6 separate regions of the Homo sapiens genome follow, and all the other regions are linked to region 1. The links are contacts of gene promoters, found by promoter capture Hi-C in blood cells and fetal thymus (Javierre and others, 2016). All regions are on one chromosome and are shown on one strand. Each heading gives the region's core, a stretch centred on a gene start or on the middle of the fragment in contact. The rest is flanking DNA. Distances are from core to core; before and after follow the strand shown.

Evidence for each region. The method cuts DNA at HindIII sites, captures the fragments that hold promoters and counts their contacts. A CHiCAGO score of 5 or more calls a contact.
Region 2: a contact is called between a fragment that was not itself captured here and the fragment with the promoter of SLC6A19 in region 1, in 3 of 17 cell types (M1 macrophages, erythroblasts and fetal thymus). The highest score is 6.1, in M1 macrophages.
Region 3: a fragment that was not itself captured here is called in contact with the fragment with the promoter of SLC6A19 in region 1 in 1 of 17 cell types (non-activated CD4 T cells); the score reaches 5.6 in non-activated CD4 T cells.
Region 4: a fragment that was not itself captured here is called in contact with the fragment with the promoter of SLC6A19 in region 1 in 1 of 17 cell types (monocytes); the score reaches 7.2 in monocytes.
Region 5: a fragment that was not itself captured here is called in contact with the fragment with the promoter of SLC6A19 in region 1 in 1 of 17 cell types (naive CD8 T cells); the score reaches 5.5 in naive CD8 T cells.
Region 6: a contact is called between a fragment that was not itself captured here and the fragment with the promoter of SLC6A19 in region 1, in 5 of 17 cell types (naive B cells, monocytes, total CD4 T cells and 2 more). The highest score is 7.6, in naive B cells.

The regions. Positions count from the first base shown.
Region 1 is chr5:1,198,866-1,202,981 of GRCh38, forward strand. SLC6A19 (solute carrier family 6 member 19) reads left to right here and starts at 2,730. Exons shown (of 12, transcript NM_001003841.3): 1 at 2,730-2,987. The coding sequence starts at 2,786. The HindIII fragment of the contact is 15,195 bases long and covers 1-4,116 here.
Region 2 is chr5:899,468-903,680 of GRCh38, forward strand. TRIP13 (thyroid hormone receptor interactor 13) reads left to right here. Exons shown (of 13, transcript NM_004237.4): 4 at 1,027-1,082; 5 at 1,874-1,964. Among named protein-coding and RNA genes, the nearest start is that of TRIP13, 8.7 kb to the left of the region's middle. RefSeq lists a silencer at 3,627-3,921. The HindIII fragment of the contact is 227 bases long and covers 2,594-2,820 here.
Region 3 is chr5:1,553,053-1,556,752 of GRCh38, forward strand. LOC107986397 (a long non-coding RNA gene) reads left to right here. Exons shown (of 2, transcript XR_007059102.1): 2 at 1-2,903. Among named protein-coding and RNA genes, the nearest start is that of LPCAT1, 31 kb to the left of the region's middle. The HindIII fragment of the contact is 946 bases long and covers 1,970-2,915 here.
Region 4 is chr5:1,694,661-1,698,351 of GRCh38, forward strand. No RefSeq gene overlaps it. Among named protein-coding and RNA genes, the nearest start is that of MIR4277, 12 kb to the right of the region's middle. The HindIII fragment of the contact is 471 bases long and covers 1,069-1,539 here.
Region 5 is chr5:1,471,092-1,474,933 of GRCh38, forward strand. It overlaps LPCAT1 (lysophosphatidylcholine acyltransferase 1), which reads right to left. Exons shown (of 14, transcript NM_024830.5): 10 at 3,469-3,594; 11 at 2,866-3,019. Among named protein-coding and RNA genes, the nearest start is that of SLC6A3, 28 kb to the left of the region's middle. The HindIII fragment of the contact is 3,401 bases long and covers 1-3,001 here.
Region 6 is chr5:1,671,507-1,675,424 of GRCh38, forward strand. No RefSeq gene overlaps it. Among named protein-coding and RNA genes, the nearest start is that of MIR4277, 35 kb to the right of the region's middle. The HindIII fragment of the contact is 3,707 bases long and covers 1-3,449 here.

The sequences.
Region 1 (4,116 bases), core at 1,480-3,979:
TCTTTGTCTATCCCTATCTCTCTCTGTCTCTGTCTCTCTCTGTCTTTCTCTCTCTTCCTGTCTCTCTGTCTTTCTCTCTCTTCCTGTCTCTCTGTCTCTGTCTCTCTGTCTCTGTCTCCCCATCTCTCTCTTTTTCTGTCTCTGTCTCTCCATCTCTGTCTCTCCCTGTCTCTCTTTCTCTGTCTGTCTCTGTCTTTCTCTATCTCTCTGTCTCTCTCTGTCTTTCTCTCTGTGTCTCTCCTTGGCTCTCTTTCTCTGTCTTTCTCTCTCTCTCTGTCTCTCCCTCTCTCTGTCTCTGTCTCTCCCTCTCTCCTTCTCTGCCTCTATCTCTCTGTTTCTCTTTCTCTGTACTTTCTCTCTCTCTGTCTCTCCCTTTCTCTCTATCTCTGTCTCTCCTTGTCTCTCTTCCTCTGTCTGTCTCTGTCTTTCTCTCTCTCTGGCTCTCCCTGTCTCTTTCTTTGTCTCTTTCTCTGTCTCTATCTCTCTGTTTCTCTCTGTCTCTGTCTATGTCTGTCTCTCTCTTTATCTCTGTCTCTCCCTGTCTCTGTGTCTCTGTCTCTCCCTCTCTCTTTCTCTGTCTTTCTCTTTCTCTCTGTCTCTGTCTCCCCATCTCTCTTTTTCCCTGTTTCTGTCTCTGTGTCTTTCTCTCTCTGTCTCCATCTCTCTCTGTCTCTCTGTCTCTGTCTTTGTCTCTCTCTCTGTCTCTGTCTCTCCCTCTCTCTGTCCCTGTCTTTCTCTGTCTGTCTTTCTCTCTGTCTCTCTCTTTTTTCTCTGTCTCTCTCTCTCTCCCTGTCTCTCTTTGTCTGTCTCTCCCTGTCTCTGTCTCTGCCTTTCTCTCTCTGTCTTTCCCTCTCTCTGTCTCTGTTCCTGTTTCTCTTTCTCTGTCTCTGTCTCTCCTCGTCTCTGTCTCTACCTCTCTCTGTCTTTGTCCCTGTCTCTGTTTCTGTCTTTGTGCCTGTCTCTCTTTCTCTGTCTCTCCTTGTTTCTGTCTCTCCCTGTCTCTCTTTCTCTGTCTCTGTCTTTCTCTCTCTGTCTTCCCAAGTCCCCACCCTTCCCTCCAATCTGCGCTGTGCTCGGAAGCCAGGAGTCCTTAAATGCAAACGTGATCTCTTCCTTCTGGCCTCCCTTTCTGAGTTCCTGTGTCCTAGGGGCAAAGGTCAGGCGCCTAAACTCGCTCATCTCTGAGTGACGCCCCCAGCGCCTTCATCTCCATTACTCAGCGAATGTCGATGAGCCCTGTGCAGGGTGGAGGTGGGGGCGGGGGCGGCTCTGGGTCCTTATCGCCCAGCGGTGCAGACTGAGATAAAGGAACCAGGAGGCTAGGGAGAAAGTCCCATGCCTGCCGGGAAGGCCCCGGCTATGGAAGGAGCCATGTGGGCAGTGGGGGCAGGGGGCCAGCGAGGGCCCCCAGGGAGGTGAGCCCAGAGGCTGAAGGAGGCAACGGGAGGAAGGCCTGGGGAGGCGCAGGGTGTGGCACCGTCCCTGGCCTCAGGAAGGCTGGTCCGGGATTCCAGAGCTTGAGGTCTCCTAGATGGGAGAGACGTGAGGGGAGGCCCAAGTGGGGGCCCAAACGGGCAGCGCCCGACAGAGGATGGCCTCCAACTCCCTGTGCGGAAAACCAGGAGAGAATCCCACTCTGGCTTTGGAGACACAACCCCCAGGATCCTCTCCTGAACTCCCCGCAACGTTCCTCCTGCCCCTCCTGGACCCCGTGGTCAGCCCTGTGGCTTCCCTGCACGGCCTCTTTGCTGGGGAGCAGGAACACCATCTCCTTCGCTGTCCCATGCCCGGCACAGGACTGCCCCCCACAAAGTGCTCCACAGAAGGACAGAAACCGTGCAGTCACCGGGAAGGTGGGGATCTGGGGTGGCTGCAGGTTCCATGACACAGGACCCTCCATCCCCCGTGACCCCAGAGGGCCCTTGGGGACGAGGCTGCCCTAGAGGGTGGCTCTGGGTCCTGAACCTATGGCCGGGAGCTGAACTCCTCCTGCTCGATGTTCTCCAGCTCAGCCAGGGATGGGATCCGGGCATCCAGGCTGGGGTTGGGCAGCGTGAGCTGTTCATTATGAAGTTCATTACGAACCCCAGAATGAAACTGTGGCCCAGGGGGCACAGCCACGGGAACCCCACTCTCAGGTTGATTCAGGCCACATCCCAAGGAGCCGTGGTTCCGTGGGGACTGGTGGGAAGCCGGGCCCCCGAGCAGCCGTCTAGAGCCCAGAGCCAGGCTGGAGGGGTCCAGGGCCTCGCTGTGCTTGGTGTGAGCAGACCAAGAGCTGCCCCAGGGCCCCTGCTCCCGCTGAGTTCCCTCTCCCTGGACTGGGGTGGGGGCCGGGGATGCCTGTGCTCCAGGGAGCTGTGGAGAGGCCCACCCGGCGTCCTGCAGGTGGGGGTGTGCGGCAGCCAGGGGCTCCCAGACCGGGGCAGAGCCAGCATCCTGTTTGCCTTGGTTCTTTCTCCCCGGGGTGCACCGGCGTTTGTACGCATTTGTGTGTGCGTTTGTGCAGGGGGAGGGGTGGCCAGCGCCCACGGAGCAGCCTCCGGTTGCCCGAAGGCAGTGGGTGGCTCTGCTGGCCCCGGGGCCGGGCGTCTCTGCAGATAAGGCATTAACAGTCCCTCCGCAGACGCACCCTGCAGATCTGCTGACGACTGGCTCCGTTCTGCCCAGGTGCCTGGGGCGAGGTGCCAAAGGTTCTCTATAAAGTGCCCGGCTCCCGGCCCACGGCCACTCGCCCTCCAGCTTCTGCCCTGCCTGCTGTGTGCGGAGCCGTCCAGCGACCACCATGGTGAGGCTCGTGCTGCCCAACCCCGGCCTAGACGCCCGGATCCCGTCCCTGGCTGAGCTGGAGACCATCGAGCAGGAGGAGGCCAGCTCCCGGCCGAAGTGGGACAACAAGGCGCAGTACATGCTCACCTGCCTGGGCTTCTGCGTGGGCCTCGGCAACGTGTGGCGCTTCCCCTACCTGTGTCAGAGCCACGGAGGAGGTAGGCTGGCCGGGCGGGGCTGCGGGCGAGGCCGTGGCCAGGGAAGCACAGACACACGCAGAGGCCCTGGGCAGACATCCTCCCCGGACCCTCGGCTCCCCAAGCACGGAGGGGAGAGGAGAAGCCGCAGGGTGTGGGGGGAGCTGGGGCCCCCACGGGCCCCCGTGCCCGGTTCCTAGGCTGCTGGTGAGGAGATGGGCCTGGCCGGCACGACCCCAAGACTTCGTGTGGGGCTCCAGGGAGGGCCCTGTGTTCCAGACTGGCAGTCCTGGAACGTTCTGGCCTGAGGGTGGGGCCGGGGGAAGGGTGTTTCTCCCGGTACAGCCCCTCCTCGGAGGACGCGGGGCTGGGCCCTCCTGGGCATCACCTCTCGTCCCAGCCCCACAGGCGGACACCTGCCAGTGCAGGGAGCAGAGGAGGTAGCTGGGTTGGGGGCAGGTGACCCTAGAGGAGCAGAGTGGGTAGCCGGAGCCTGTGGACTCGGGCCTGGCTCTTGAGCCAGGTGCCCTCAGGCCTGGAGGCCGGGAGCCGCTGTGCCCACCCAACACACAAGCCTGACTGCTCCTCGTTCCTCTGGCTCCTGCGGCCCAGGTAGGCATGGCCGCTGCTGGCACAGAGGTGACATTTGTGTTCCTGCCCAGTGGTCCTGAGCATCTGAGAAGTGGCTCCCAGGCCTGGCAGGGGGCTGTACCTAGGACCCCCACACTTGAACTCAGCCTTGGGCTTGGCGAACCCCAAAGCTGCTGCCCTCATAAACCTGCTGCTTTCTCAGCGGAAGGTCCAGGAGGGCCGGGCACCCTTGGGAAACAGGCTTCCTGCTGCCCTGGGGCAGTTCACGGGGGGGCCGTGAAGGTCTCAGCCTCCGTTTAGAGGAGTCTGCCCTCAGGGGGCCCTGTTCCTTCTCACCATGGAGAGCTGCTGTCTCTCACGCGGGCTTTGTGATGTGAAGGTTTTTAAAGAAAAACAGAAATGGGCTTTTCCTGAATCAGTTTCGCCTCCAGCATTGTCAAGGAGTTGATCACTGCCTTGCGGGGGTGGGCGCTTCATGAGCCTCTGGTCCAGCCTGCACTTTCCACTGGAGGCAGGTCGGGGGACCTTGGCCACTCCGATACTATAGTCCCTGACAGTC
Region 2 (4,213 bases), core at 1,457-3,956, 300 kb before region 1:
GTGGGGAAACAGGTGGATTTGGATGGGCTCTGGCAGGCCAAGCCCAGGGCTTCATGCAGTCAGTGTGTGGGGAAACAGGTGGATTTGGATGGGCTCTGGCAGGCCAAGCCCAGGGCTTCATTCAGTCAGTGTGTGGGGAAACAGGTGGATTTGGATGGGCTCTGGCAGGCCAAGCCCAGGGCTTCATGCAGTCAGTGTGTGGGGAAACAGGTGGATTTGGATGGGCTCTGGCAGGCCAAGCCCAGGGCTTCATGCAGTCAGTGTGTGGGGAAACAGGTGGATTTGGATGGGCTCTGGCAGGCCAAGCCCAGGGCTTCATTCAGTCAGTGTGTGGGGAAACAGGTGGATTTGGATGGGCTCTGGCAGGCCAAGCCCAGGGCTTCATTCAGTGTGTGGGGAAACAGGTGGATTTGGATGGGCTCTGGCAGGCCAAGCCCAGGGCTTCATTCAGTCAGTGTGTGGGGAAACAGGTGGATTTGGATGGGCTCTAGCAGGCCAAGCCCAGGGCTTCATTCAGTCAGTGTGTGGGGAAACAGGTGGATTTGGCATCTGGACTTGTGCTGAAGCATATGGATAAAAGACAATTGTAAGTGGCTATGATCATAAATTTTATAATGTGTTGTTCACCACCAAAAAATGATAGTTTAATGAAAACATATTGTGGGGATTATGTTATACGTCAATGGAAAATAAATGACAACAATACCTTAAAGAAGGATGGGAAGTTAAAGTTTTTTTAAAAGACAATTGTGCGTGATAATGAGACGTAAAGTGTAATTCTTTGACTCCATCCAGTTGTCTGCCAGAAGTTACATGTGACTGGCATTTATTTTGCATCTTTGATTTTAATAAAAATCAAAATTTGAAGAAAAATTTGCAGAATTTATACTTTCCTGTAATCAGAATCATAGTCTTGCCTGGAGCAGCACAATGGGAAGCTCAGGCTTAGGCTCAGGGGAGACTGACTGGGGGTGGCTGTAATTGCTTGCCTTCCTGAAATCAGGTCTTTGTTTAATTCTGTCACAGCTGAATTCCATGGGCTTTGGGACAGCTTGGTATACGATGTGGAAGTCAAATCCCATGTAAGTTGCTGTGCCTTTTCCCAGAATGCCCTGTTATTTGAAGAGGAACCATTACTGTTTTGCTCTCCAACACCCCTGAGCAACTTGATGCAGATGGGTTTTTGGGAGCCCCTGTCTGCTGGCAGCCCTTGTCCTGGACATCTATCCTCTAGTATTGCTCCAGAGTAGAGCTGGTCTCTGAGGAGCTCCCTGAGGGAGAAGAGGGAAAGGGAGAACGTGAAGGCAACTTAGAGAATTAAACCCTCTGGAGATGGGAGGAGGGAAGGTGAGCAAGCCTGGTCCGCACAAAGGAAAGGCCGGTGTGTCTTAACCCCTGCACCCTCTTCAACGGGAAGGGTCTTTCCCATGCCAGCAGCTGGCTAGAAGACTATCACTCAGCTGTCCTCTGCATTGATAGTCTGAGACTATCACTCAGACTGCTCCTCTGCATTGTGGCTGTTGTTATTTTGCGAATAATAACTGCTGTATCATTCTAGGGAAGGAGCTTACTCATTACTTGATAAACAAACCCCTTAGTGGTTTTGTTTAATGTTGGCACTTTAAATAAAAGTGATCATTTTGTTGCTCTTCTTATATTTATAATAGTAATAGCCAGTGTTTTTCCTTTTCCCTTTTGGAAGCACCTTCTCTTCTGAAATGAAAGCGTTTGGAGGTGATGATCTCTTAGGAGGCGGCCTCGCTCCCTGTGCTCCCTCTTCTCATGTAGGATTAAGCCCTGGGGGAGGGCACATTTCTTGGGGACCTTTGCCTTGTTGGTATCTTTGTCAAGCTCTTTTCTTTTTCTCTATCAGCTCCTCGATTATGTGATGACAACTTTACTGTTTTCAGACAAGAACGTCAACAGCAACCTCATCACCTGGAACCGGGTGGTGCTGCTCCACGGTAAATTATGCAGGCTTTTATTTGACCAGATAAGTGGCATGAAATTTAGCCTTTACTTGTACCTTCGTCCTTCTGCAAGGAGTTACGGCTCTTTGTTTTCTGAAGGAGCCACAGCTGTCCTAGAATGTCCCCTCTCTGTGAAGCAGATCCAGCTCATGACACTTGGGACATTTTTTGTTTGTTTGTTTGTTTTTGTTTTTGAGACAGAGTCTCGCTGTCGACCAGGCTGGAGTGCAGTGGCCCGATCTCGGCTCACTGCAACCTCCACTTCCTGGGTTCCTCCCAGGTTCCAGCAACTCTCCTACCTCAGCCTCCCGAGTAGCTGGGATTACAGGCATGCGCCACCACACCCAGCTAAGTTTTGTATTTTTAGTAGAGACGGGGTTTCACCACGTTGACCAGGCTGGTCTCAAACTCCTGACCTCAGGTGATCCGCCCGCCTCAGCCTCCCAAAGTGCTGGGATTACAGGCTTGAGCCACCGCGCGCGGCCCCTGGGGCATTGATTACTCGGCACTTAATCAAGTCTTCCTGTGGGGGGCCACATTCCAAGACATCCTCAGATGCCCCAAACGTGGATAATACTAAACCTTATGTAGACTATTTTTTCCTACAGACATTCCTATGATAAAGCTTAACTTATAAATTAGGCTTGTAGTACTCAGAGCTTTACTTTGTGAGGAGTAAACTGAAAAAGCCATATTTTAAAGAAATTCTGTCTGGTTCTTCTCAGGAGAAAATACTGATGGTTTGTTGTTTGGTTTTGTTTTGTTTTGTTGTCAATATCACCGGGTAGAATGGGGACACGGGAATTGAGTGGACTCGAGAGTATGAAACTGTAGCCAAGTGTTAAATAGAAGCTTGAAGGGTACTTGGCTTCTTTAAGTCAGTTAAGATTGCGTGACAAAGTGACCTTAAAACACAATGTTCTTTTAAAGAGCAGACAGGCCCCGCATACTGCCCTCATAGCACAGTCAGAGTAAGCAGCAGGTGTTTTAATTAGTGAAATAAGTTGTTTCTGTTTGGAACCAGTTACGTATTTCCTCTTTAATTCTTGAAAATACCTGCAGAAAATTAGAGTTGTATGTCTCCATTTTCTGTTAGATGCTTTCCTTTTTCCATATTGGTCACCTCGCAGCTTCTGTGAGGCATCTTTTGTAGGGTCCAGCCCCACAGGGTTGGTGAGTTTTCTCCCCATGTGCAAAGACGAGAGAGTGTAGAAATAAAGACACAAGACAAAGAGATAAAAGACAGCTGGGCCTGGGGGACCACTACCACCAAGACGCGGAGACCGGTAGTGGCCCCGAATGCCAGGCTGCGCTGATATATATTGGATACAAGACAAAGGGGCAGGGTAAGGAGTGTGAGCCATCTCCACTGATAGGTAAGGTCACGTGGGTCACGTGTCCACTGGACAGGGGACCCTTCCCTGCCTGGCAGCTGAGGCAGAGAGAGAGAAGAGAAACAGAGAGACGGCTTACACCATTATTTCTGCATATCAGAGACTTTTAGTACTTTCACTAATTTGCTACTGCTAGCTAAAAGGCAGAGCCAGGTGTACAGGATGGAACATGAAGGCGGACTAGGAGCATGACCACTGAAGCACAGCATCACAGGGAGACAGGCCTCTGGATGACTGCGGGCGGGTCTGACTAATGTCAGGCCCTCCACAAGAGGTGGAGGGGTAGAGTCTTCTCTAAACTCCCCGGGGGAAAGGGAGACTCCCTTTCCCGGTCTGCTAAGTAGCAGGTGTTTTTCCTTGACACTGACGCTACCATTAGACCACGGTCAGCTTGGCAGCGGGCTTCTTCCCAGACGCTGGCATTACTGCTAGACCAAGGAGCCCTCTGGTGGCCCTGTCCAGGCATAACAGAAGGCTCGCACTCTTGTCTTCTAGTCACTTCTCACTATGTCCCCTCAGCTCCTATCTCTGTATGGCCTGGTTTTTCCTAGGTTATGATTGTAGAGCAAGGATTATTATAATATTGGAATAAAGAGTAATTGCTACAAATTAATGATTAATATTCATATATAATCATATCTAAGATCTATATCTAGTATAATTATTCTTATTTTATTTATTTTATTATACTGGAACAGCTCGTGCCCTCGGTCTCTTGCCTCGGCACCTGGGTGGCTTGCCGCCCACATCATGCTAGGGGACGCTTGGCAGGCAGGCGTGCAAGAAGAGTGCTGGCCTCTGCCTCTTCTAGTATGGGGTATGAGCCCACTGAGAATTGTCTTAGGAAAG
Region 3 (3,700 bases), core at 1,193-3,692, 350 kb after region 1:
GTGCAACAAAAAGCCTCTGTTCCACCCAGAAGAGCTCTGAGCAGAGAGGGCCCCGCCGAGGCCTGCCGCGACGGACTCACAGATGGGCGCCTGGAGAGAGCGGGCTTTCATTAGGTCAGCCCAGGGGTGGGGGGAGCAGACAGCACTGCTGGGCTTGGCTTGGGAAAGAGGCGCCCCGAACCCGGAGGAACTTCCAAGAGTTTACAGGACGCTCAGGAGCCTCCTTCACTCTGCCTTTTCTTCACGTCCTAAAGTGCACGGAGCTGGTCTTTAGTTTCCAGACAGTGAGCATTAGCCCAGGTGGGCTCTCCTCTGCCAAAGAGGGTCCTGAGGACCCCCACGACTTACAGCCCCCACCACTAGAGCCCCCACGACTTGGAGACCCCACGGCTTAGAGCCCCCACCACTAGAGCCCCCACTACTTAGAGCCCCCACGACTTGGAGACCCCAAGTCTTAGAGCTCCCACCACTAGAGCCCTCACCACTTAGAGCCGCCGTGACTTAGAGCCCCCCACTCCTTTGGATTTTGGGGAGTTGCCCCGCCAGCTCCCCGTCTTTGTGGCTCTGTAATCTGAGATGTCCGGATGGTCCTCTGATAGAAAAGCCCAGCCCTGCAGTTTCCTCTGCAGCCCATTGATGGGGGAAGTGGGGTCCTGCAAGGCTCTGGTGGGCCTGCAAGCTGGGCCTGCTGAGCCACAGGGGCTATTCTGATCACCTCCTTCCTCTCTACCCTATTGGTGAGGGGGACCCGCTGCCCTCAATGGCACCAGATGCCTGAGTGCCCAGCACCCAACCCTGGACAGCTGAGAGTGACAGCAGGCCACGGTCACAGGTGCTGATGTGCGGGTGGAAGGCGGCCCACTCCACTCGGGGACAGGGTGGGCTCTCAGGGGCTGCATGGCTTTGCAGTGGCCGCCCACAGGGTGAGGGGACCCTGGCTCTGTGGGGCTTGGGGCAGGGTGTTGGGAGAATCCTGTGGGCTGGCAGGGATCTGAAGCCCAGCGGGCTGAGGACCAGATGGGTGCTGCTGGTCCCGCTGGTGGAGGAACTGGCAGGGTGGGGAGCCTTTCCCCCTGGGGGACACATCCTATGAGGACAGCGGCTCCCAGGAGGCCTCCAGAGGCTGGGAGGCCTTTCAACGCGAGGATCTTACTGGCCACAGGTGCTGCTCAAACGAACGCTCCGAAAGTCTCAGCAGGTGAGAGCGCAAGTCTCAGTGCCGGAAACTGCTGTGCTGGGGGTGAGGAGGGGTGGACCCAAGGGCAGCCAAGGGCTTTGTGGGGGCACCTGGGGCCCAGGGCACAGGAAGAGCCATGCCCCACATCCAGTGCCCCCAGGTGTAACCCTGCTCCTCATGGCCCAAGAGGTTTTACGTGTGGATGGGTTTTAATTGGGTGTCTGGAAGCAGGTAAAGTTGTGTCTGAGCTTGGTAATGAGAGGCAGGGTAAAAGGGAGGGACATCTTGGAGGTGACATGCCTGATGCAAGGTCTTTACCAAACAGAAACTCCACAGGCCTGACCACACCTGACCAGGGCACAGGGCAGCCGAGGGCAAGGGACAGGTCCTGGTTTGGGGCCACTGCATGTCCTTGATCAAGGCATTGGGTGTTCAGCACCTCATCTTCCTTCTCTGCAAGGTGAGCGGCTTGGTCCCCCAAAACTCCAGTGCATTTATGAATTTTAACTGTTCTACAAGGCTACGGCCAACATGGGTGCCTCCGAGGCTCAGCCTGAAGGCAACATGTGGGGAGCCTGGTGGAAACCAGCCGTGTGGCCGAGGGCAGGCGCGTGCCGGGAAGTGCCCCTGTGCTGCGCTCATTAAGTTGTGATGGTGGCTTGTTAGCAGCTTGTTTTACTTCAAGATACTTCACTACATAAAGATTTTCAATTATGAGACAGATTGAATTGAAAACTGACTTTTCTAAAAACAAGGATTATTCCACATTGCAGAAATGATCCTCAGCTTCAAAGCTTTGTTTTTTAATGAGTGCACCCTTTAGGCATTTGGCACGTCTGGGATCCAAACCCTTGTGTTCATCCTGTGGACTCTGCAAAACGCACAGTGCCTCATGTCTCTTTCTGAACCTGGTCTGGTGTGAGCAGTGAGGAGGGAGTGTCTCAGGCTCCCATGGGGCTGAGGATGGGCTCCACGATGTCCCTCAGCCCACAGAGACAGAGACACACCCAGAACCTCCAAGCCACGGGTCTTGTCTGCAGCTGGGCCAGGTGGACTGCACCTGCCAAGGGAGCCTCCAGGGTGGGTGCTGGCTGGCCGGGCGCCCTCCTCACACACGAGGGCGGGCCAACTTGAGTGGAGCCGTGTCTGCATGCAATGCTGTCTCTGCCCCCAGCAGCTGAATGCCACCTGCTGAGCTAATATTTGCTGAACCATCGAGTCATGGATTCCTTCCTGACAACGTTGCTTAAGTGTTTATCCGAGCAAGAGCTTGGGTCAAGGTTGCCCTCGTCTCCCTGCCTCCCTCTGCAAACACCATTCAACTGCCAGCAGTGCCCTTGATGTCCCGTGTCCAGCTCCTCTGAGTGTGGTTTCCTGGCTCATAGTTGCCCAATGTACGGCATTCCTTGTGGTGAACCACAGGGCTGGCCCAGGATTCTTAGATGTCGGAGGAGGCGAAGATGCCACGTCCAGCAGAAAGAGCTGCACAGTGGCGGCCGCGCGTCAGAACGGCAGCTGTGGGGTGGCTGTGGAGCGGGGCGCCGGCGGTGGGTTGTTTACCACGAGCTCTACAACCAGTGGCTGTGTCTGTGTTTTTTCTCTTTAATGGAATGAAGCAAACGCAGGAGTGCCATGTCCCTGCAAGGACACAGTAGGGGTCTGGGTGATTTAGGGCCCTGGTGAATTCACACCCTCCAGGACATGAAGCCCTGTTTTCTGCACCATTTTACTGATGAGAAGCTTGAGGCTGAGAGAGGCCACTGGAGCAATCTGAGGGGAGGCCAGATCAATGCTGAGCCCTGCGGGCCTCACCTTGCAGGCCACAGCCTCCCTTATCATCTCTCCAACCCCAGCCGAGGCCCTAGGTCCACCCCATGTCCGGGTCATGATCCAGGAAGGGGTCAGTGCTGATCTAGAGCCTGGCGACAGAGCCCCTGGCCCGAGGCCTCCAGGAAGGAGTGTATCTCCAGCTTGCTGCCCATTGGCTGAGGACAGCGGGCTGGGGCATGAATCCCACGTGCGCGCAAGTGCCATTTTGCTCTGTGCTCCATGAACACAGGTGCCCCGAGCGCCTCCTGAGTGCCATGTGCAGAGTGGGCGGTGCCAGATGGGGCCCACCGTTGTCCACAGGGCTTGTGGAGGTGCTGCCGTGCCTCCCAGATGCCCTGTCTGGGCCTGTACCCCTTTGCCGAGTTGAGGAGGCTGTGTACCTCTTTGGGAGATGCCTGGGAGGTCACGAGCACAGACTGTGGGTGGCCCAGAGCCAATGACTGACAGTGGCGGGTGCCATGGCCACCCTGGCCTCCCCAGGGCCAGCAGTGGGGTGCGGGTCACTGGCTGACAGGGACCCCCTCCTGACGCCTGGTCCTGCCCTATCCTGCTCGCCTCGCCCCTTACCCTCAGGTTTCTCCTGCAGGAATCCCCATGGGAGTGCTGGCTGCTGAGGGACGGAGCTTCCCTCCTGGTGGGGCTACAGGGTGAGGAGGGCTTCGCATGGCGGCGGCGGCAGAGGGAACGGTGCTG
Region 4 (3,691 bases), core at 54-2,553, 490 kb after region 1:
TTTTTGTATTTTAAATAGACATGGGGTTTCACCGTGTTAGCCAGGATGGTCTCGATCTCCTGACCTTGTGATCCGCCCGCCTCGGCCTCCCAGAGTGCTGGGATTATAGGCGTGAGCCACCGCGCCCGGCCTCTTGATTCTTTAATCTCATGTCTTCTACTAAAGTGAGAAAATGTGTCCTCTACTTTTCAAAAATGTTTTTCTCCCCCATTTGTTCCTGTACACCTGTGACTCACATTTCACTATTAGACCCTTTGATGGTATCTCTCAGGTCTCTGAGACTGCATTGATGTCTTTCAGTTTTTTTCTTCTTCTCCCTAAGATTAGATGATTTCTGTTAATGTATCTTCCAAGTTTACTGGCTCCTGTATCATCCCTATTCTGCTGCTAAGTGTACATGTTGCATTTTCCATTTCAGATATTATATTTTTCAGTTATAGAATTTCATATAGTTCTTTTATATTTTATACATTTTAAGTAATTTATATTTGGTTCTCTTAATTTTTCTGATGACATTTACTATTTGTTCATTCATTTCAAATATTCATTCATTCTTTATGCCCTTGAGTGTTATTGTTATCATTTCTGCCTTAACATTCTTGTGTAGTAACTCCAACACCTGAGTTATCTTGGAGTTGGCCTCTGTCATTTGCCTTTACTCTTTTTTTTTCTTTGAGATGGAGTCTCACTCTGTGGCCCAGGCTGGACTGCAGTGGCGCAATCTCGGCTCACTGCAAGCTCCGCCTCCTGGGTTCACACCATTCTCCTGCCTCAGCCTCCCGAGTAGCTGGGACTACAGGCGCCCGCCACCACGCCCGGCTAATTTTTTGTATTTTTAGTAGAGACGGGGTTTCACTGTGTTAGCCAGGATGGTCTCAATCTCCTGACCTCGTGATCCGCCCGCCTCGGCCTCCCAAAGTGCTGGGATTACAGGCGTGAGCCACTGCGCCTGGCCCTGCCTTTACTCTTTATTGTGGGTCACATTTTTCTGGTTTTCCTTTTTTAGAAAAATATAATATCTACAAATTTTAGGGATTATAGCAGGATATTATTGTTAAACATTGTAAAAGCTTGATTCTTTTTGTTCTTTGGAATACTGTTGCTATTTTATCTGTTTTTAGAGGCAGTTAATTTGCCTGAATGTAAACTCCAAACACTTTCCTTATAATAATGGCAAACAGCTGAAATCTCTGCTTATTTCTTTCATTTTCAGTTTCTTTACATTTACTGTAATCACAGTTTCAGAGCTCAGCTGGAGATTTGGAAAGGTCTAACACACAGAACTCAGGTATCAATCTCTGTAGTTCTCTGTTTTTCAGAATTCATCCTGCCAAATTCCATCTGCTGAGGTCTCCACAATCTCTGTCCCTGATTCTTTGTGCCAGTAACACTATTTTCTATGAAAGTTTTATCTGTCTGGCATGGTGATGACTTTGACCTGACCCCAGTAAAGACTGAAAATTGGAAACTCACTCAGAACATCATCTTACAAATGTGGTGGGATTTTTTTTTCTTTACTTTTTAAAAACCAATATGGCAAGCTTGGTCATAATGAAGTTAGTCCTTTAAATTTACTTATATTCATAGTTGAATGGTCATTCTAAAATCTTATAATTTATTTTCTGTTTATTCCATGTGTCTTCTTTACTTTATTTATCCCCACTTTATTGGCACTATAGTTATATATTTTTTATTTCCCTATAGTTTATTATTTGCATAGTTGAAGTATAAAAACCTACCTTAGGCCAGGCACAGTGGCTGACGCCTGTAATTCCAGCACTTTGGGAGGCAAAGGCAGGAGGATTGCCTGAGCCCAGGAATTTGAGAGCAGCCTGGGCAACAAAGTAAGACCCTGTTCTCTACAAAAGATGTTAAGAAAAATAAGCCAAGCATAGTGGTGGGCACCTGTAGTCCCAGCTACTCAGACGACTGAGAAGGAGAATCACCTGAGCCTGGGAGGTTTTGGCTGCAGTGAGCCATGATTGTGCCACTGCACTGCAGCCTGGGTGACAGAGCGAGACCCTGTGGGGGGAAAAAAAACAAAAAACAAAACAAAACAAAACACCTACCTGAAACGAATACTTTTATCACTTCCCAAGCAGTTGAAGGATCTTATGAGTGGTCTGTCGTGCCCCCGCTCGCATTTCCTTTAATGCCATTGTAGTCATATATTTTACTTCTGTGTTCGTTGCAAACACCAGAAGATCACTTTAAACAATCCATACACTCACACTGCCCCTAACAGTTATCCTTTGTGGTGCTCTTCATTCCTTTCATCCTTTCCCCCATGAACATTTTCCTTGAGCTGAAAAATGTGGCTTTAGTATGCCTTGTAAGGCAAGTATGTTGCAGATAAATTTTCTCAACTTTTTAAATAACCACATCTTTATTCCACCTGCATGATTTAAAGCAGCAGTCCCCAACATTTTTTGGCACCAGAGATTACTTTTAATGGCAAAAACCGCAATTACTTTTGAACCAACCTAGTAATTATTACATTGTATTATATACTGAAATAATTATACAGCTCACTATCACGTATAATCAGTGGGAGCCCTGAGCTTGTTTTCCTGCAACTCGATGGTCCCATCTGGGAGTGATGGAGACAGTCACCCCCAAAGTGTGTTGCTTATGTCCGGTGTACTCTGTAATCTCGTTTTGGTTGCTGTCACTGCAGAAAACTCTGCTTCACAAAGACAGGATGTTGGGCATGGAAGCAGGTTTTTCAGTGCGTTTGTGGCAATCTCAGGATATTCCACCTTGACTTTAGTCCAGAACATATGGAGATTTGAAGTTGTCTCAAACACACTTGTAAGGCCACCATTATTTGTGATCTCAAGCAGCCGACCCTCTTCTAGCAAGGACAAAGTCGATTCACCTGGCTTATTCACAAATGGGTCACGGATCCATTCCTTCCCAGTTCGGGGTTCTTTTGTAGTTGGGAAGTAATGCTCAAGCTCTTTTGGAAGCTGAAAGGTGATCATGCACCAGCTGGGGGAAAGAAGGCCCTGGCTCAGTCTCTTTCCAAACAAAACCTCCGCTAATGTTTGAAACATGTCAGAAGTCCCAGTGTTCACTCATTGACCCATAATTCCAGTCTGACTTTTAATGCAGCCACTTTATCTCCTGACTTGAACACAGTTGTCCCTCTCCCTGAAGTGACGGTTTGTGTTGCTGGTTGAATATGTCACACAAGTAAGCAACATTTGTAGCCCATTCTATGTCACTGAAATGTGTTGCCAGTGGTGACTGTTTTTCTAAAAGAAATCTCTGGAGTGGCTCTCATAACTCAAAATCTCGGCCAGTGATCTACCTTTAGAAAGCCACCTCATTTCTGCATATCAGAGGAGCCATCTCACTCCTGTCACACATGTGTCACTGTAAGCACATGTATTTCAGAGAAGACGTGTGTGCTCTGCATCCGTCTCCTCACAGAGCTGCGTGAACAGACATGAGTTAAGGGCATGTACTTTAATGAGGTTGATAACTTTAATCACATACTGCAAAACTTTATTAAGTTGAGGCAACATTTTCCAGCTACCCAGCATTTCTCTGTGGATGACACAGTGCATAGACTTACATCCAGAAGCGACCTCTTTGACACAAGTAGTGAAACCAGAAAGCCATCCAGTCATGGCAGCCACTCCCTCTGTGTGTACACTGACACAAAATGGCCAGTTCAGTTTTCCTG
Region 5 (3,842 bases), core at 51-2,550, 270 kb after region 1:
CTCCAAGGTCACTGTGCTGTGTACACTTCTTGGGGCCATTACAGTGACTTCCCAAAGTTCACAAGGCTGCCACAGGAAGCACCTCAGCAAAGCACACGCGATGCAATGCCTGCCACCTGCCAAGACCTGCATTTGAGAATACCCCCTAAGCACCAAGGCTGATTCTGGGCTCTAGGAATTTGGTCTGTTTATGGCAACCCATTCATCCTGCAGAAAGAAGGTGAACCCGGAGCTGTGACGTGGAGCTAAACAGCAGCCCGGGCCAGCTGTGGAAGCCAGTCAGCCCCGCGCTGACCATTCTCAGTAACTCCTCACACCCAGAGTCTCCAGGGACATGCTGATGTGAGTGAGCAGGGTGGTGAGAGGCACAGGTGGGGGCTGACAGGGTCTGCACTTCTGATGACGATGGGGACAGTCTGCACGTGGCTGCAGGGTGTGCCCAGGCCACAGGAAAGAACCTCCCAGGTCAGGGCGGGAGGAGGTGAGGAGCACCCTGGACAGGGGGAAGACTCTCTGGTCAGACAGCAGGAGATGAAGGGCAACCAGGAGTGGAGGGAGGACTCCCTGGTCAGAGAGCAGGAGGAGGTTCCAGGAAGAGAGCAGCAGGAGCATCCAGGGGTAGAGGGAGGGCTCCCAGGTTGGAGAGAACAAGAGAAGGTGGGGAGCACACAGGATAGGGGGGAGGACTCTGGCCAGACAGCAAGTGAGAAGCACTCAGGACAGGGGGAGGACTCTGGCCAGAGAGCAGGAGGTGAGGAGCACCCAGAGGCAAAGGAAGGACTCCCTGGCTGGAGAGAGCAAGAGAAGATGAGGAGCACCCAGGAGAGGGGAAGAATTTTGGCCAGAGAGCAGGAGGTGAGGAGCACCCAGGACAGGGGGAGGACTCTGGCCAGGCAGCAGGAGGTGAGGAGCACTCAGGAGCAGAGGGAGGACGCTCTGGTCAGAGAGCAGGAGGAAGTGAGGTGAGGAGCACCCGGGGCAGAAGGACTCCCTGATCAGAGAGCAGGAGATAATGAGCACCCAGGATGGGGGAGGACTCTGGCCAGAGAGCAGGTGAGGAGCACCCAAGGGCAGAGGGAGAACTCTGGTCAGAGCAGGAGGAGGCGAGGTGAGGAGCACCCAGGGGCGGAGGGAGGACTCCCTGTTCAGAGAGCTGGGGGTGAGGAGCACCCAGGGGCAGAGGGAGGACTTTGACCAGTAGTTGCCCCTCTACGCTTGTGTCAACCACAGGCTGTAGGTGCTAGGGGTGAGACGCACACAGGTCCCTGAAGGTCTTCTGAGGGAACTGATAGCTTTCTTTGTGCTACGCCACACCCCTTGCAAGGCATGGGGTACTGGGACTGGGGCTTGGGTGTCTGGCAGGTGGAAATGACTACAAGTCCCTGGCTCTGGGAAGGTCTCGGGCTGGGGGTCTGAGGTCCTGGGTGTAAATGGAGAATACTCCTATCTCATAAGATCATGTGCATCTGAAATTGCAGAAAATAAAAAATTAACTGCACAGTGTCATAAGTTACCTCGGAACGCTGCCTGTGAAACCAGGAATGCTGCCTGTGAAACCAGTATTCACCATTTCACGTTTCAATTCCAACACTGTGGTAAAGCGCCTGAGTGCAAACGCAGCTGCAGATGTGGCACGGACACCAGGAGGGACTCGCATCCGAGACGCTGTTTGCAGCTGCCTCGTAGTAGAGGGCCCGCGGCTGGGGGCCCCTTACGGACACTAGGCAGGACTCGCATCCGAGACACTGTTTCCAGCTGCCCTGTAGCAGAGGGCCCGTGGCTGGGGGCCCCTCTGGTGCGTGTGGGAGAATGCCCTGAGCCACGCACTGTGATCCTTGGTTCACACTCTGCATACTTGCGGGGCAGCCTCCTTCCCCTGTCCTGGGTGCTCCTCATCTTCTCTTGCTCTCTCCAACCAGGGAGTCCTTCCTTTGCCTCTGGGTGCTCCTCTCTCCTCTCTCCTGCTCCTCCTGCTCTCTGGCCAGAGTCCTCCCCCTGTCCTGAGTGCTCCTCACCTGCTCTCTGGCCAGAGAGGCCTCCTGCCAGCCCGGGTTCCACCCAGGACTGCACTGCAGCTGCTCCGTGTTGGTGCAAAACATATATGGTGCTGTCACACGGGACATCTCATGCTGTCACGGGACAGTCATGGCTGAAGGAGCCTTCTACACACACCCTGGCGTATCACCAGCTCCTCCAGGACCACAGTGTAAGTGTCCATGCTGTGACACTAACACCCAGAAAAGACCAGGATTGGCTGACCTGTGGCTCGCCGTGGCAGCCTGTCCCGCCCCTGCGTGCCACCTCGCACCTTCCTAAAACCCCGAGGCTGCCCGCCATGTTCAGGGCCACCTGGTGTGACCGTGGATGCCTCATCAATTACGACGAGGACCTGGGGATGACGTGCGGAGGGCAGAGGGGAGTGGGCGGCTGCACCAGGAGGAAGCCCTCCCACACCCACAGGCTGGCGGGGAGCCTCTAAGCCGATCATAGAGGACGGGCGTGTTATTAGAAACTCTGACGCTGCAAAGAGCAGCTCTGGTGAGCAGGGGACCCTGCAGGGGGTCCCTTGGAGACCCCAGGCTGGGTGTCACAGTTTGATATTGTTAGACTCCGTAATCACACTGAAAAACCCCAAACCACAGGCACATTCATCAGTGAAGGGTAATTTAAACGTCAAATGTGTACGCGTATTTAAAAGCATGGAAGGAAATACCTCAAAATGATAGGGTGGGGTGGTGATGGGTGGTTTTCCTTCTCTGCTTTCAAATTCATGTGAAAATATATTTATATTAGAATGAGAACAATTTATGCTTCAAAAAGCAGGAGGTTTTGCCGACACCCCGCTCCGCAGGCGACAGGCCCTACCTCGTCGAACAGTGAAAACATGTCTTCCAGCAAGTCAGAAACGGGGACTTCCAGGGAGGCGGCAAACTCCGCAATACCTATCTTCTCTCCTCCCTTCATCCTGGCTCTTTCTGAGTATCTGTCCAGATCTTTTTCAAGCTTTTCTGGTTTTAGCCTAGACAAAAAAAGAGGGAAAGCTTTCTTTTTCAATAAAATGGTGGCATGCTAACACCAGATTTACTTCTAAGACTCATCAAAATATTAAAATTGACAGAAGTAGCAGCAAGCTAGTTTTCAAGAAAAGGCATTCTCCTAATTGGAAGGTGCGAGATGTGTTCTGTCCAAGTGTCAAGCCAGGTGCCTGTGCCCCTGAGACCCGTTCCCTTCCCAGGGCAGATGTGGCAGGACACAGGGTGGCCCTCCTGGGGCGCCGTCCACAGACAGCTGATGCCAGCATTAAGGGATTGAAAGACACTATGTGGGCTTAAGTTGATATTTGAAAAAAGCCAGAATAATTAATAATTATCTCCTCAGTTCCCCTCCCTGCAACCCCAGGCAGCCCCCGCCAGACCTCGGCATCACGGGTTCTAGCTAATGCTCAAGGAAGAAGAACCAGGTACTCACCCGAGGCCCCGCACGAGCCTGGCAAATTCTAAAAGGCAAGTGTCAGCGGGGAGACGGAGCTGTCCTTCCGCCAGGGCCAGCTGGCAGTCCTCGAACGTGTAGTCAGTCACGGAGACACCCAAGGCCCTACAAGGAGGGCAGCACCCCCGTCAGCCCAGCCTCGTGGCAGCCAGTTCCCACCGCCCCACCAGAATAACCGCCGATGGCTCAGGGGAGAGGAGGGCTGAGGAGAGGCAGTGAGACAGGGGAAGGGCCAGTTGGTGGGGCAGTCACACATTCATCGATCAGCTTCACCTCTCGTGGGTGCTCTGAAACGATGACGGCAGCCACACCAAAGGTCACTGACACAGACTGCCATCACGTGAGAATCGTGA
Region 6 (3,918 bases), core at 346-2,845, 470 kb after region 1:
AAAACGGATGGTGCTGTGTCCATGGGAGGCACCCCAGGCCTCCCAAGTGCTGTTGCAGAGCAACTCCCAGAGTCTCGGGCGAGGGGCGTGGCTGCCCTGTGACGGTGGCATCAATCCCCATGTTAAAGCATTAAAAAGGACTCGTACGTATTATCGCCACTAAAAAAACTTGTCACTAAAATTTACTTTATAGTAGTTTTATTCTTATGCTTTCATGTATGAACCGTTGTCAAATGTTGACCCTCTAGTTTTTAAATTTGATTTAATTTTATATTTCCAATGCATGAGGAAGATCACCCGGGCTCTCAACATATTTTTCCTAGTGTACTCCCGTGGCGTGATTGTAAATATTGGGAAGCTCTATGTCTGGGGAAGACAGCCCTGATCTGCAGTGTGCGCTGACTTCCGTGGTGTTAATACCCCCACCCTGGCTCATTTCAAGCTGCTGACATGACGTCTGTGAGCGAGGAGTGGAGATTAGGGGTGTGCGTGGGGTCGCTCAGGGGCAGAGGGGCTGTGCCACCCCCAGCTTCACGGGCAGAGAGCTGCTTAGACTCGGGTGACGTTCAAGCCCCACCCATAACTGCAGGCCCCGGGGACATGTCAACTTTTCTTTTGGTTACAGGGGAGCCTTGTTTTTCCAAAAAAGGACTGACCATAGGAAATCTGACAGCATCAGCACAAGTCAACATTATCCGGGGGTTGAGGGAACAAAGTAGTCGGCCCCACGGGGGTGAGTAAGGAACCATCACTGCCCTTTGCCACGCAGTGTAATTTTTATTAGCTCATTCACCATCACTGAAAAGTAATTTATTTTTTTAAAACAACATAGTAGATTGCAAAGAGTCTGGTGTTTTGGGGTGGTCAGACGCACCAGGATTAAAATTCGGGTTCTGCCATCTAATAGCTGCTTGACCTTGAGAATATGACACGAAATGCCCAGCCCGGAATGCCTGCCTTTCCTGGTGCTGCGAAGGTCATTAATGCGAGCGCCTAGCCCGGGCCTGATGTGCATCCACACTCGGGGAGCCAGCTTGCATCTGCATCTGCCTTCTTCCCCAGGGCCTTGGACAGCTTGCAGAACTCACTCAGAGCACCTAAGAAGGATGTAAATCCCTCCCTTGCCGCCAGGTGCCTGGTGGAGGGGAGTGATGGGTATAGAGGTGTCGGGGAGAGCGCGGGGTGTGGTGCTGAGTGGTCTCTCAGTGGGCTAAGAGCTCAGGGCTGCCCGAGGTGCAGGGACCCCCGGGGCAGGAGGAGTCATAGCCGCTGTGTGTGTGATGTATGCAGTGGGTCTTGAGGTGGGGGTGGCATCCGCCAAACGGGGAGGGAGGGCTACGCTATGATAAAGAGTTCGAGGTTTATTTTTCAGATAAATGTTTGGGATTTGGGGCATATCTTATAAATGTTCACACAGAAACCAACGTGGTTCTCTTTTTTTAAACATTCAAGTATGCGAGAACAAGAAGTTTAGGTGTGAATTCCTCAAATTCTGAGCAAAACATACTGAGATGAGGAAATGGTATTTCACTTTTCTGAGAGGTGTTTTTCATCACTCAGTCACTGTGACATACCGTGGCTTGAGGCGAGCAGCAGGCGGCAGCCCCTGCAAACTTTAAAGGCCGGGGAGGGACACACAAGGCTGGTGAGGGACACGGAAGGCCGGGGAGGGACATGGAGGGCTGGGAAGGGACATGGAAGGTGGTGAGGAGCACGGAAGGCGGTAAGGAGCATGAAGGGCCGGGGAGGAGCATGCAGGCCGATTTGTCCTGTCTTCTGCCACTCCTCGGCCTCCCGTCCTAATCCATCTCCCCACCTGTCCTGACACTTCCGTGCCACCCTCTGGTGACATGCAGGGAAGCCCGTGTGAGTTTCTTGGTCTCAAGCTCGGGTATTCCCAGCAGCTCTTCCTTTTCGCACGCTTGTTTGGCGCCCTCTCACCTTCGGGCGGCCGTCTCATGTCTCTTAGCCTGTGTCCTAAACGTCATCCAACTGTAATCAGAGCAGCTGGAGTGAGTCCAGGCCTCGCCACTGGGAGAACCGAGCAAGACGTTATCTCACCCAGACCTCAGCTTCCTCATCCACAAAAGACAAAGTAAAGTTTCTAACATACAAGGAGTTTGTGGACATCAAAGTTAAAAAATGAATTATGAATTTAACAGAAATATCCCCTTTTATGAAATACTTTTGAACTCTCTAGAGAAATAAAGTCCTTTTTCAATCCCACTCTCACTATATATATATATATATATATGTTTGTTTTTTGAGACAGGGACTTGTTCTGTGGCCTGGGCTGGAGTGCAGTGGTGCAATCACAGCTCACTGCAGCCTCCATCTCCCGGGCTCAAGCAATCCTCCTGCCTCAGCCTCCCAAGTAACTAGTACTACAGGCACATGCCACCATGCCTGACTGGTTTTTTTTTTTTTATTTTTTTTGTAGAGACAGGGTCTCACTAAGGCTCGTCTCGCCCAGGCTGGTCTTGAACTCCTGGGCTCAAGTGATCCTCCCATTTCAGCCTCCCAAATTCTAGGATTACAGATGTGAGCCCCTGTGCCCCGCCCTGTCTCCACTCTCTCTCTCTCTTTTTTTTTTTTTTTTTTTTTTGAGATGGAGTCTCCCTCTGTTGCCCAGGCTGGAGTGCAGTGGCACGATCTCAGCTCACTGCAACCTCTGCCTCCCAGGTTCATGCGATCCTCCTGCCTCAGCACCCCCTAGTAGCTGGGATTACAGGCGTGTGCCAGCATGCTTGGCTAATTTTTGTATTTTTAGTAGAGATGGGGTTTCACCATGTTGGCCAGGCTGGTCTCGAGCTCCTGACCTCAGGTGATCCACCTGCCTTGACCTCCCAAAATGCTGGGATTACAGGCATGAGCCACCGTGCCCAGCCACCTCCACTCTCTTTGTATTCTGAGTAACCTAGAAACACACAGCTTTGTACAACTAAGACTTCCTAAATACAGGCCCTTAAGGAATCCAGAAATTGCAAGTATTAAACATGGATTATAAAATAAAAAATTAAGAATAGTCTTAAAAATATCTGCAGGAATCAGGAAAATTTTTTAAAAATAGATAATTTGCAAAATAATTAAGTAGAATTTCCAGAAATAAAATGTTAAAAAATAGCAAAAAACCTCAATAGATGGGTGTAACAGAAAATTAACACAACAGAGAAGAGAATTGGCAAATTGTAAAATCAGCTAAAAATATTCCCCAAACAGAAATATTTTAAAAGGACACTATAGAAGAAGAGGTAACTTTCCCAGGAGGATTTAGGAAATAACAGATTTGTCTAATGAAAGAAGGGCTAAGAGAAAACGAGGCAGATAAAACATGTGAAGAAATGATGTGCAGAAATTTTTAGAGACACCAATACAGACATTTAAGAATCCCAATTATCGCAAGAAACATTTAGACAAGAGGAAATCCATCCTTAGACACATCAAAATGAAGCTTTAAAACAACAAAGTCTGAGAAAATCCTAAATAGGAATCAGCAAAAATAAAGATTAATCGTGTTCAGTTTGCTTTGAATCCTTGAACATATTCATAAGAGCTTTTTAAAAGTGCTTCCCTGCTAATTCCACCACCTTTGCTATTTCTGTTGACAAAGAAATGTTGCTAAGGTGGGACAAGGAACAACTATCAGAGGTGGCACAGGGCTGGGACAAATTCAAGTTCTGACCAGGCAGGGTAGAAATACTTTGTTGAATGCCTAGGACTTTTAGTAAAGATCCCAGAAAAGGCATACCTTAGTATCAGGGCCAAACCAGATCTAGGGTGAAGGCTAATCTATCTCCAACTCTATAAAGCCTAAATCAACCTTCAAAGAAAGCACCTGGACCACGAGGAAATTCACTTCCTTCTGGGGGAAATGTCCTCAACGTGTACTAAAGGAAGGCAGTGAGATGCAGCCACTCA